Linked DNA regions of Homo sapiens: all the other regions are linked to region 1. The links are contacts of gene promoters, found by promoter capture Hi-C in blood cells and fetal thymus (Javierre and others, 2016). All regions are on one chromosome and are shown on one strand. Each heading gives the region's core, a stretch centred on a gene start or on the middle of the fragment in contact. The rest is flanking DNA. Distances are from core to core; before and after follow the strand shown.

The links. Contacts are between HindIII fragments. The CHiCAGO score rates a contact against its expected background, and 5 or more counts as called.
Region 2: a contact is called between a fragment that was not itself captured here and the fragment with the promoter of C2CD5 in region 1, in 1 of 17 cell types (non-activated CD4 T cells). The highest score is 6.5, in non-activated CD4 T cells.
Region 3: a fragment that was not itself captured here is called in contact with the fragment with the promoter of C2CD5 in region 1 in 9 of 17 cell types (non-activated CD4 T cells, M0 macrophages, naive B cells and 6 more); the score reaches 10.5 in non-activated CD4 T cells.

The regions. Positions count from the first base shown.
Region 1 is chr12:22,543,101-22,547,034 of GRCh38, forward strand. C2CD5 (C2 calcium dependent domain containing 5) reads right to left here and starts at 1,442. Exons shown (of 27, transcript NM_001286176.2): 1 at 1,220-1,442; 2 at 961-1,079. The coding sequence starts at 1,050. RefSeq lists enhancers at 1-202, 1,343-1,572 and a silencer at 1,083-1,202. The HindIII fragment of the contact is 7,848 bases long and covers 1-3,934 here.
Region 2 is chr12:22,076,600-22,080,886 of GRCh38, forward strand. The region is part of intron 1 of LOC105369690 (a long non-coding RNA gene); the gene reads right to left. Among named protein-coding and RNA genes, the nearest start is that of CMAS, 33 kb to the left of the region's middle. The HindIII fragment of the contact is 1,243 bases long and covers 1,326-2,568 here.
Region 3 is chr12:22,059,173-22,063,150 of GRCh38, forward strand. CMAS (cytidine monophosphate N-acetylneuraminic acid synthetase) reads left to right here. Exons shown (of 8, transcript NM_018686.6): 5 at 1,660-1,754; 6 at 2,109-2,280; 7 at 3,109-3,262. Among named protein-coding and RNA genes, the nearest start is that of CMAS, 15 kb to the left of the region's middle. The HindIII fragment of the contact is 1,555 bases long and covers 577-2,131 here.

The sequences.
Region 1 (3,934 bases), core at 192-2,691:
TTAGGAAACATCAGGAATATTGAGATGAAATCGAGCTATATATTATGATATATCTATCCATCAATTCTAAGCACTAATAGCCCAAATGATTGCTGCTCTAATGCTCTGGCTCATCACGCCAATTTTTATTACAATCTTTACTTGGCTTCTTTCAGACTCTGGGTTATTACCTTCCGGCCGTAGGCCTTTACTAATTTGCATGACTTTTAAACTAATCATTAGACTTAAAAAGCAATTTTGCAATTTAAGTCCATGGCAATTAAATGACTTCCTACCTCAAGGCGCTAAATTACCCTGAAACACCTCATCAGACCTACCAGCCTATACAAGAGCAGGAAGTGTTGCAGTTGTGTTTTAGAACGTGCATGGCAGATTCACAAAATGTTAGGCATGAGAGTGGATTTCCTCGCACTGTGGGACTCCAAGTGCCCATAAAGGGCTTCATGCACCTTCTTAAACATGATGTCCAGCACTCTGGCCACCCCTTCCAAGGGTGTGTGTGTGCCTGTGTGTGTGTGTGTTTCAGTGGCTGCGGGGCCACACCTTGGGATCTCCTGAGTGGCAGGTGGCCTGTTAATGAGTCCTGACATCAGAGTCATTCCGGCATTTGTGTGTGTGTGTGTGTATGTGTGTGAGTGTGTCGGTGGCTGCGCGGCCACGCCTTGGGATCTCCTGAGTGGCAGGTGGCCTGTTAATGAGTCCTGACATCAGGGTCACCCCCGCATGCACAACAGTACAAGCCTCCCCGCGCAGCGGACTGTGCCGCGGACGCCTGCAAGCCGTGCACCCATCGCACACACTGAGGTCTCGGCGGTCATCCCTCGTGGGAGAGCTGGACAACCACGGCCGAAGGGAGGGCAGTCGAGGGGGGAATAGGCTGAGGGGCTGGGGGCGAGGTGGGTAGATCCTTCACAGGGCTTGGCGCTCCCTGTGTTTTGAGGGGCAGGACCCTGCACCAACCTCCACGAAGGCATCAGTCAGGTCACTAGCACGGTCCATCACTGGCAAATGGCGCCCGGCCACGATTTTCACCTTCAGCTTCCCTGGCATGGTCTCGGTTTCGGCCTCTTCTTGGGCTCCTGCAGAAACAAACAAACGAGTCTGCGCCGAGCGCGGGGCCGGCGGGAGAGGGGCGGAGGCGCGCGGGGTAACTGACAGCGAAGGAGCGCGCGGGGGCGCGCGCGGGCGCCCGGCAGTCGCGCCACGGGTCGCCACTCACTGTCGCAGGAGGAAGGGTGCTGTCCCGCGCGGGTGCTGAGACCTCATTCCGGAGAGGCGGCGGGAGGAAGGGCTTTGATGGGTTCTTCCGTCCCGGCCCCACAAGGCTGGGACGAAAAGCAAAACCCAGTCAGCATCCCGTTGAGCCTCTGCCGCCCCTGCTTGTCTCTCCTCCCCCGCTCTCAAAAATGGCGGCTCTCGGGGCGCGGAAGAAAGCATCGATCGTTCGGCGCTCTGCCCACTTGGCGGGGCGAAACTAAACTCGCCGAGGAAAGATAAGGGGGCGGGGCTGACGTTGAGAAAGCTGGAGGGCAGGGAAATGGGCCGAGTCCTGCATCATCCACCGAGTGGGGGCTGTGGATAGGTGCGGCGCTGCTTCCCTGGAGGGAAACGCTCCATCTTGCGGGCCGAAGCGCGAGTGCTGCTCTGTGACAGCCTCCGGCCGCGGCCTTCCCAGCTGCTACCGCCGCTTTTCGGATGGGCTGTGATAGATGGAGTAGCAGCGAAGACTGCTAGAAGAGCGTTTTCAGTCGGCCTTTAGTGATTCGTAAAACCAAATTAGCTGGTTTCTACTTGGAAGGGGTACAGGTGCGTGTGGTGGTTCCAGTTTTCTGTGAAATAGAGTTAGATGGCCAGGCACAGTGGCTCACGTCTGTAATCCCAGCACTTTGGGTGGCCGAGGCGGGCGGATCACCTGAGGTCAGGAGTTCAAGACCAGCCTGGACAACATGGCGAAACCCCGTCTCTACTAAAAATACAAAAATTAGCTGGGCGTCGTGGCGAGCGCCTCTAATTCCAGCTACTCAGGAGGCTGAGGCAGGAAAATCGCTTGAACCTGCGAGGCGGAGGTTGCAGTGAGCCGAGATCACTCCTCTGTCTCCAAAAAAAGAAAAAAAAGAAAGAAAGAAATAGAGATACCAGGCACATCTCGAATAGTGAAATAAATATTTAGTGAAATATTTTATTCAGTCATAGGCACTTGTGTTGTGCACTGGGTCACAGATATTACTGTGGGCGGGGTGGGGGAGGTCACCTTGAAATCCAAAGTCTCCTCTTGAAAAAAAGTTTCTGCTGGTAGGTGTGGTGGCTCAGATTTGTAATCCCAGCACTGTGGGAGGCTGAGGTGGGAGGATCGATTGAGTCCAGGAGTTCGAGACCAGCCTCATGGAGACGAGGCAACACAGTAAGACCCCTTCTTTACAAGAAATGCAAAAATTAGCTGGGCCGGTGGCTCGTCTGTGGTCTCAGCTACCTAGGAAGCTGAGGTGGGAGAATCTGGGAGAATTGCTTGAGCCCAGGAGTTTGAGGCTGCAGTGAGCTGCCATCTCACCACTGCACCCCAACCTGGGCAACAGAGCAAAACTCTGTCTCTTAAAAAAAATTTTTTTTTAATTAAATGTCCTGCACTCTTAGATCATCTCAGTGTTCTTATTAAGCATCCACAAGCCTAAAGATAAGACCTACAGTAGTAGCAGAAGTTCAGGACTTCCTACCATGGAAAGTATAGTCAACCACAAGAAATAAACATGGAGAGCGTTAAACATCTTGAAGAATTGACCCAACTATAAATAAAGTAAGGTGTTATCTACAGGCTCAGACCATATTAGGGAAATTGAGGCACACACAAGATGTAAATAAATCAGTCCTTACCAAATATCAAAATCAGCATTGACAGTATACCCAGTATCAACAAAATCAGAGTTCATGCCGGCTCAAAGATTGTAACATTTCATTCCTAAGTGAAGATATCCGTATGATCTTTTTAACTTCGAAAATACTCAATAGAGTAAATACTCCAAACAGTAGTGATCCCGAATTATCTTTTCATGACAAAAATTCCTTCTATGGCAGGAATATTGTTCACATAAGTGAGAAATTGAACTCCTACAGAGAAAACGACTTCCTCAAAATAAAAATCTAAAAAAATCGCTTGCTTTTTGGACTAGAGAAACTTTTATCAATTCAAACTATGTCAAAGGAATAGGGGTCATAGATCCCATGCGAATTTCCTTAGGTCCACCTGCAGCTTTTTCTGGAGTCTGACTCTGCCCTTAAAATACCCTTGCCAGAATTCTGAAGGTTGGCTACACTATGTGATCAACGTTTTTTATTTATTTATTTATTTAGAGACAGGGACTCACTCTGTGTCCCACACTGGAGTGCAGTGACATGATCATAGCTCACTACAGCCTCAATCTTCTGGGCCAAGCGATCCTCCCACCTCAGCCCCCCAAGTTCCTGGGACTACAAGCACATACCACCATGCACCGCTAGTTTTTTAAATTTTTTGAAGAGATGGAGTCTCCCTGTATTGCCCAGGCTGGTCTCAATCCTGGTTTAAGCCATCCTCCTGCCTTGACCTCACAAAGTGGTGGGATTACAGGCATGAGCCATCTTGCCCGGCATGATCAGTGTTTTTTGTTGTTTTGGGTGGTAGAGTTGAAGTCGTTTTTGTGGTGAAATCGAAGTATTACCGTATTACCAACTCATTTTTTAAAATATGAAATGTATAAAGAAAAAATATTAGAAAATTGAAGTTTAGCACCAATATTAATGGAAAATAATGCATTGTGTTCCAAAATGTAAAAAGTTGCAAATTGCACAATTAGAGGTTAGCAATCTCAGCCTCCTAATTAGTAGACTTTGAGGTACTTGTACGTACTTGTTGCCTTAGGCTTCATCAACAAGAGATTATAATTAAGATGCTTCCTGAAAA
Region 2 (4,287 bases), core at 697-3,196, 470 kb before region 1:
TAAAGTAGGGAGAAAAGAAGAGAGAGGGAAAGACAGCCTGCACAGGAGCCAGGCCTATGCCCCGGTGAAGTTCGTACTGGGCATGGGAGCCAGGTTTCACAAGTGGGGTGTGAGAAAGAAAGGAGGAGAAGAAAAAAAAAGGTAAAGTGACCAGATGGAACCTTGGGAACCTTCCAACCATTACACAGTGTGGGGGCACCAGGCCCGCCCTTCTCATTTATCAGGGAGAGTCTCAGCACCCTAGGTGGGCAGCTCTCCGAGATAGTCAGGAGGGTGAAATGGGAGGTAGAGAGCAAAGAAAGGCAATAGGGCCCATACAAAAAGTCATTCATTCACACATGCAAATGGTGTGCTTCCAAATGAGTCCCCAGTCAAGGGTCTGGGTGAGGTCCTGAATCCCCCGCCCCAGTTCCAAATGGCTCCACAGGAAGCTGAGTCTGAGCCAAGTTCCTATGGAACTTCATATTCAAATAAATACAAATGCATAAAATGCTCAAATGCTATCACTAGCAGCCAGGTCTTAAATACAGTAGGGCCTTGGGCCAGGCGCGGTGGCTCATGCCTGTAATCCCAGCACTTTGGGAGGCCAAGGTGGGCGGATCACCTGAGGTCAGGAGTTCAAGACCAGCCTGATCAACATGGAGAAACCCTATCTCTTCTAAAATACAAAAATTAGTGGGGCATGATGGCGGGTGCCTGTAATCCCAGCTACTTGGGAGGCTGAGACGGGAGAATCGCTTGAACCTGGGAGATGGTGGTTGCAGTGAGCCGAGACTGGGCCACTGCACTCCAGCCTGGGCAGCTGAGCAAGACTCCATCTCAAAAAAAAAAATAATATATATATAGCACGGCCCCAGCGACACCCCAAAAGAGCCAAGTCTTAAATAGGGCAAGGCCACCCAGTTTGGGTACACTCCAACTACTCACTCAGTTTCAAAGTTTGTCAGCGTCTTAAGAGGCCATTTTGCTTGTACCAGTGAAGCACCAAAGGCAGCAGTTGTCATGCCATGAGGCAAAAGGGAGCTTCCCCCAAAACAAATTCATTTTTGGCAGCTTCTGGGAAGTTTCCTAATGTTCCCATTATGGGGTCTGCTAGCCATGAGCAGCTGGCACTCACAGGTGACCCCACACCTCACCTGGTAGTGAAACTGGGCTGACAAAGTTAGCTCACCCAGGGCATGAAGTACTTCCCCATATGAGCCACAAAAATTGTAACCAAAACACAAGTCCAGTCACTCCCCACTCCACATTTTGTAACCAAAACACAAGTCCAGTCACTCCAATTAACAGGAGCAAGGTATAAAGAAAGTGACATTTTATTCCAAAGCTTGCTTAGGGGAAGAGGAGCAGGATCTTGTCTTTATGGGTACCACCTCACTTTTGGAGCAGAAAGTGGGGTGCTTTTAAAGGGGGCCCAGCATGCTGGCATGAATGACATGCAGAGGAGTCAGTGAGCAGGTGGGGGGTCTGCATACTAGCCTCGGTGCCTTATCTACCGGGTGGTCAAGCTGGTAACTGCTGGTCCCTTTGTGGACAAGACTAGGTTGTAAAAGCAGCAGAAAATTCTCCAGGTGGGAGAGAGTTTCACAGTGGAAATACTTTAGGTAGTAGATGGACTGTTGTTTCTTTAGGCAGCCTCCTGGTAGGAGAGTTTCACTCTGGAGCTTCTAACAACCTAGTTAAATAAACTTGCCCTCTAGGGAGTGTCTGGTGAAGAGGAGGTAAAGGCTATAACTGCATTTCTAAAGACCTAAGTAGGAAGTGGGGAAAAGAAGGAGAGCGAGAAGAAGAAAGATAGTAAAAAACTATCTCTTAGAAAAATGAGGGTACACAGTTACACTATGATTAATAAAAAAAGGGATGGAAAAAAGTACACAACATGCAAAATCAGATAGATAATGTCAATACAGACAGAAACTATGAGAAAGAATCAAAAGGAAATGCTAGAAATCAAAGAAACAGTAGCAGAAATGAGGAATGCCTTTTGGTGGTTTATCAGTAGACTTGAGATAGCTAAGGAAAGAATAGGTAAACTTGAATATTGGTCAAATTTTTTTTTTTTTTTTCTGAAACGGGGTCTCACTCTGTTGCCCAGGCTGGAGTGCAGTGGCGTGATCTTGGCTCACTGCAACCTCCACCTCCCAGGTTCAAGTGATTCTCCTGCCTCAGCCTCCCAAGTAACTGGGATTACAGGCACGCACCACCATGCCTGGCTAATTTTTGTATTTTTAGTAGAGACGGGGTTTCACCATGTTGGTCAGCTGGTCTCGAACTCCTGACCTCGTGATCCACCCGCCTCGGCCTCCCAAAGTGCTGGGTTACAGGCGTGAGCCACTGCGCCCGGCCAGAATATTGCTCAATTTTAAAAGTTCCCAAACTGAAAAACAGAAGGAAAATAAATTTTAAAAAAGAATACAATATGCAAGAACTGTGGGCCAATATCAAAAGGTATAACTGAATACCAGAAGCATAAGAAATAGAACAGGACAGAAGAAATATTTGAAATAATACATGGCTAAGAACTCCCAAAACTAATGACAAACACCAAAGCCAACCTTTCTGTGGCTAAGCTTCCTGGCTCTAATTGAAGATAATAACGGTATCATCAAACTACAAATCCAGGAAGCTCAGAGAAGTCCAAAACAAACAATTAAAAATAAAATCCTACAACCAGGCATTTCATATTCAAACTGCAGCAAATCAAAGACAAAGAAAATCTTGAAGGAAGCCAGAAGGAGAAAAAAAAAAAAACAAACCAGAACTAAGGATACAGATTATATCAGATTTGGCTTCAGAAACACGTGAGCAAGAAGAGTGAGGTGAAATCTTTGAAATGCTGAAACAAACCCTGTCAACCTATATTTCTATATTCAGCAAAATTTTCCTTCAACGGTGAAAAATAAAGCCTTTTGTGGAGAAAACTGAGGGATTTCATTGCCAGCAGACCTGCCCTGCAAAAATGTTAAAGATATTCTTCAGAGAGAAAAAAAAATGATATAGGTCAAAAATTATACAAAGAAAAGCATTAGAAAAGGAACAAGTGAAATTAAAATAATATTTTTAATTGATCTAAAAGATAGCTATTTAAAGTAATAATAGTAACAATGTATAGGGTGACTATAGCATATGGACAAGTGAAATAATTGACACCAATGTCACAAGGAATGGGAGGAATGAATCGGGAGTAGTCTTATAAAGTTATATAATGTTATTTGAAGGTGGACTTATTTTAAAATATATATTGTAAACCCTAGGGATATTACTAAATTTTTTATAAAAGATATATGATATACCAAGTAAAGATATAAAATCAAATCATACAAAATGCTTAATTAACCCCAGAGAAGTCAGAAAAACAGCAGGAGAAAGAAATAAAGAACAAATGCAATGAACAGAAAACAATTACAAAGATGGTAAATTTTAATGCAACTATATCAATAATCCCTTTAAATATGAATGTTCTAAACACACCAGAGACTGTCAGGTTGAATTAAATTAAAAAAAAAAACTAGACTTACCTGTGTGCTGGCTACCACAAACCTACTTTAAATTTAAAGACTCAGAAAAGTTAAAAACAAAATGATAGGAAGAGAAATTCCATGGTAAATCGATCAAACGACAGTATCATATGCTCTGTCAATTATCAATTACTATATAACAAATAGCTTCAAAGCACGTTTACTTGAAAAAATAACTACTTTTTCATAATTCTGTGGATCAACAATTTGGGCTAAGGTAAGTAGAGTTGTTTTCATGGTCTCACTCTGTGGTTGCAGTCAGTTGATGGTGGGAATCGATGAACAGTCCAAGTCAATTTCCCTCACATATATCTACTGGTGTCTGGGCTGTTCTCTTCTTGCAGTCTTTCAACTTTAAGGAAACTAGTTTAAGTGTCTTAACGTGACAGTCTCTGAGCAGCTGGAAGGTGAGATTGGATGCTGCAACACTTTTTGATAACTTCCCCAGAAGTCACACAATGTTACTTCAGCCTCAATTTTACTGGTCAAAGTGAGTCAAGTTACTGACCATCCAGCTCAGATCAAGGGGTCAGAAGATGGAGTCTACTTTCTAATGGAAGGAGTTTAATTTTTAATGCATTATATATGTTGATACATCTGGGTTTGGAAATTTGAGAAGGTGAAAAGAGAAAGATCTTTTTGAGGGTTTTTATTCTAATTATTTTGCATTTTGGAATTTGGACAAGTTTAGCCAACCTTTCCGTGGCTAAGCTTCTTTGCTCTAATTGAAGATAATAACAGTATCACCTCACAGGATTGTGAAGATTCA
Region 3 (3,978 bases), core at 104-2,603, 480 kb before region 1:
TAAGTCAACTGCCTCTTACTATGTAAGCTTGAATATGTATCATTTTATCTGTCCTGACTCTCATTTTCAAATAACAGATTTAATGTCTCTCTCATTTTAGAGCCTGCAACATGGTTGCATCATATATTTCTTAACTTGTTAATTTTAGTTATCATTATTATTTATTATTTACTGTGTACTTCGGAGTAGGTGAAACACTTTGCATATGTTATCTTATGTAATCTGCATAGCGAATGAATGAAGTGGACATTTCTACCCAGTTTTACAGAGGAGGAAAACTGCCTCACTGAAATATGAAGTAATTGACTCAAGGCAAAAACAGCTAATAAATGGTACTGTCAGGATTTGGATTCAGGTTCTTATGTTACTCAAGAAATAGCGGTTTTAAAGAGAGAGAGAGAAACCTCTCCATTGTGTAATAAAAATTCTAATGGGACTATTATTCTGAGCAAAAGAGAGAAAAACATTTTTACAAATCTTCTGGTCAATGTGTAGGCAAACTATAGACTAGCTGTTTAGTTAAATTTAAGTGTTCAGAAAAATTGGATTTGACACACATAGATACTACCATTTTTAAGCTTTTTTCTAAGGAGGACCATGATTAACCCATTCCTAAAGTGTGGAGAAAAATGTTTCTCATTAAAACAAGGTTTATGAAGAGACTGACAATTCTGAAAAAAAAAATGAAATTGAAATTGTCCAGTAATTGATCTTGTCATTCAAATAATTACTATCAGAAGAAAGACCCTTTCTCTTGCTGACCCTTGCCTAGAATCAAGAGACTGCCCTTGCCTTTGCCTGCATGTGACTTGGATGACTATTAGTCATTTTCATCAGTAGCTCAGAGATCTAAGAAAACTCTGTACAACAGATGCTACAGTTATTTTTCCTCCCCTGTGTTGCCTGTTAGTTGCAAATTAGAACAGAAGTTCCAAAAACCTTAATACTGCTTTTGGATGATGACAGGAGAGACTTCTTGAAAAAAAGGAGGATATGATTAAGGGATTTCCACAAAATCCCTTGTGGTCAGAAACCTGGAGGATGTAATATTTCTGCTTTTTTCAATATTAAAATAGAAATTTTCTTAAATAGGGAACTTGAACTGTTTAGATAGAATTTGAAAAATGTTAAGGTTATTTCTTTTGTGTGAGCTTTCTCCTTAAAAAAAAAAAAAAAAAAAAAAAAAAAGCTGGGCGTGGTGGCTGAAGCATGTCATCCCAGCACTTTGAGAGGCCAGCTTGAGGCCTCAAGAGGATAGCTTGAGGCCAGGTTTCCAAGACCAGCCTTGGCAACATAGCAAGATCTTATATCTACAAAAAACTTTTTAAAAATTTAGCCGGACATGGTGCTGTATACCTGTAGTACCAGATCCTTAGGAGGCTGAGGTGGGAGGATTGCTTGAGCCTAAGATTTCAAGGTTATAATGAGCTATGATTGCACCATTGCACTCCAGCCTGGGAGGCAGAGTGAAACCCTGACTCGAAAAAATAAAAAAGTAAAAATAAATTTAAAAATCATTTTTATGTGACTGATTTTTACTGGGTTATTCATTTTTCTCAGTACTGTAGAAATGAATTCATTGTTCTGTATTATAATAAAGTTTTGATATATGTGAATGAATATTAAAAACAGTATTCATGACATTTATACTACCTTTAGGGTGGAAAAATGGCATACTACGAAATGCGAGCTGAACATAGTGTGGATATAGATGTGGATATTGATTGGCCTATTGCAGAGCAAAGAGTATTAAGGTAAAAACAAATAAACCTTTATAACCTTTGTACTAAATCTTAATAATTATATTTCTAGATACTGATTTCTGATACTTCAGACATCTTAGGATCTTTGTAATTACTTTGTTCATGTGAGGAAGACATGTAAAATATGTGTTTACATGGCTTCAATAAAGTGAGAAACATTATCTGGCTAGACCACACTACTTTTACTTACTGTACTATATGTTAAAATATATATGTGAAGTAAATTTGGAGAGTAATGTTTGAATAATTGAATGGAGGGTGACATTTCATGTATTGGTTTAGCCAGATGAGAGGGAGTGATTAGTACTGCACTTGTACTCAAAGGTCTATTTTGGTTTCTTTTAGATATGGCTATTTTGGCAAAGAGAAGCTTAAGGAAATAAAACTTTTGGTTTGCAATATTGATGGATGTCTCACCAATGGCCACATTTATGTATCAGGAGACCAAAAAGAAATAATATCTTATGATGTAAAAGATGCTATTGGGATAAGTTTATTAAAGAAAAGTGGTATTGAGGTATGTGCTCCCTGAATATAGCAGTATTTTATAATATTTTGATTCAGGGTCAAAGAACATGCAAGGAATTAAGAGATTTAAATTTTTAGTATTAACTCTTAAAATATCTGAAATTTGGCCTTCATACGCCTAGAAAATTATTATACTATTTAGTTTTAGATGAGTAGAATTAGGAATTTGTTAATCAGCAAATAATATTTCTTGTTTATTCAGTAAATATAAACATAACTACTTTTAAATGGGAGCTATCTAATGTTTCCCAAAGGATCTTGCAGCAAGAAAGATTCCCTAGATAATAGGTGTACCATTTTAGAAAAGGACGATATCCTGTGGATTTTTAAAATCTAGCTTATTCTTATGAATGACATTTTTGATTCAAAATAACTTAACGTTTAAGTGTATTTTTTTAAATGAAAGCTAGCTAAGATAATTATAATTTACCAGAAATCCTAAATATGTATTGCTAAGCAGCACAAGAGAGAGGTTATAGACTTTCCTCTGGATAAATTGAATTATAGGAGAATCTTAGAGTAGTATCAGACAATATATGTTGTAATTTTTACCTGTAGATAGAATCCTTTCTATTGTAGAAAATAAAATACTGTGTCTCACCTTTATTGGGCTATGAGAAATAAAATGAGCTTTGTTTTAAAGCATCATGATTTTAATTCGACAGTCAGTTTTCTTACTTGGACCTTCAGAAAGTCAAAAGATGACTCGTTTGTGATTTGGACTGTCTACAAGGTCAATTATTATGAAAGATTTCTGTTTTCTTCACTTTTTAATTTTTCCCTTCTTCCTCCAATCCTTTTTTTTTTTTTTTTTAAGGTGAGGCTAATCTCAGAAAGGGCCTGTTCAAAGCAGACGCTGTCTTCTTTAAAACTGGATTGCAAAATGGAAGTCAGTGTATCAGACAAGCTAGCAGTTGTAGATGAATGGAGAAAAGAAATGGGCCTGTGCTGGAAAGAAGTGGCATATCTTGGTTGGTATCTTTTTATTCACCCATAGTAAAATGGACCAGGAATTAATTATTTACTTATTTTTAAAGAAATGACAAAGCACATCCTCCAAATGGGTATGATTGTAGGGAAATAGGAACTCTTTTAACAAACACTGCTGATCAAACTGTTAAACTGGGACAGTCTTTCTGGAGGTTAGTTTGATAATAGGTATCAAATGTAGAATGATTATTAGCACAAGCTGTGAAGTCAGACTGTACCACTGATTAGCCAGTTGTGATAAGATGAATGTTGTTTCCTCATCTGTAAACTGGAGATATCGAGAGTACCTATTACCGTAGGGCTCTGGAAGGGATTAATAAAATAATATGAGTAAAGCACTTAGCAGAATTTCTAGTACATATGAATTACACTCTGAATAGTTTTTGCTGCTAATTGAATGTACATACTTTTTCCTCCAAATTCCAATTCCAGGAAAGAAATGAGACAAATGGGCCAATAGTGAAGTTAAAAGAACCCACTTAAATGTCCTGTGAAAAATAGAATATCCCTAAAAAGGATTACTATGCAACCATTACAAACAGTGCTGTGACCTGTATTTATTTGCATGATCAAATATAACAATGTTTTTCACTTGGATATTAAGCAATACACTTACTTACCAGGTACCTATGATGATACGCAGCATGGAACTGGTTGTGGGAACTGTAGGCTTTCTGCTTGCAGAGCTTACAGTCTG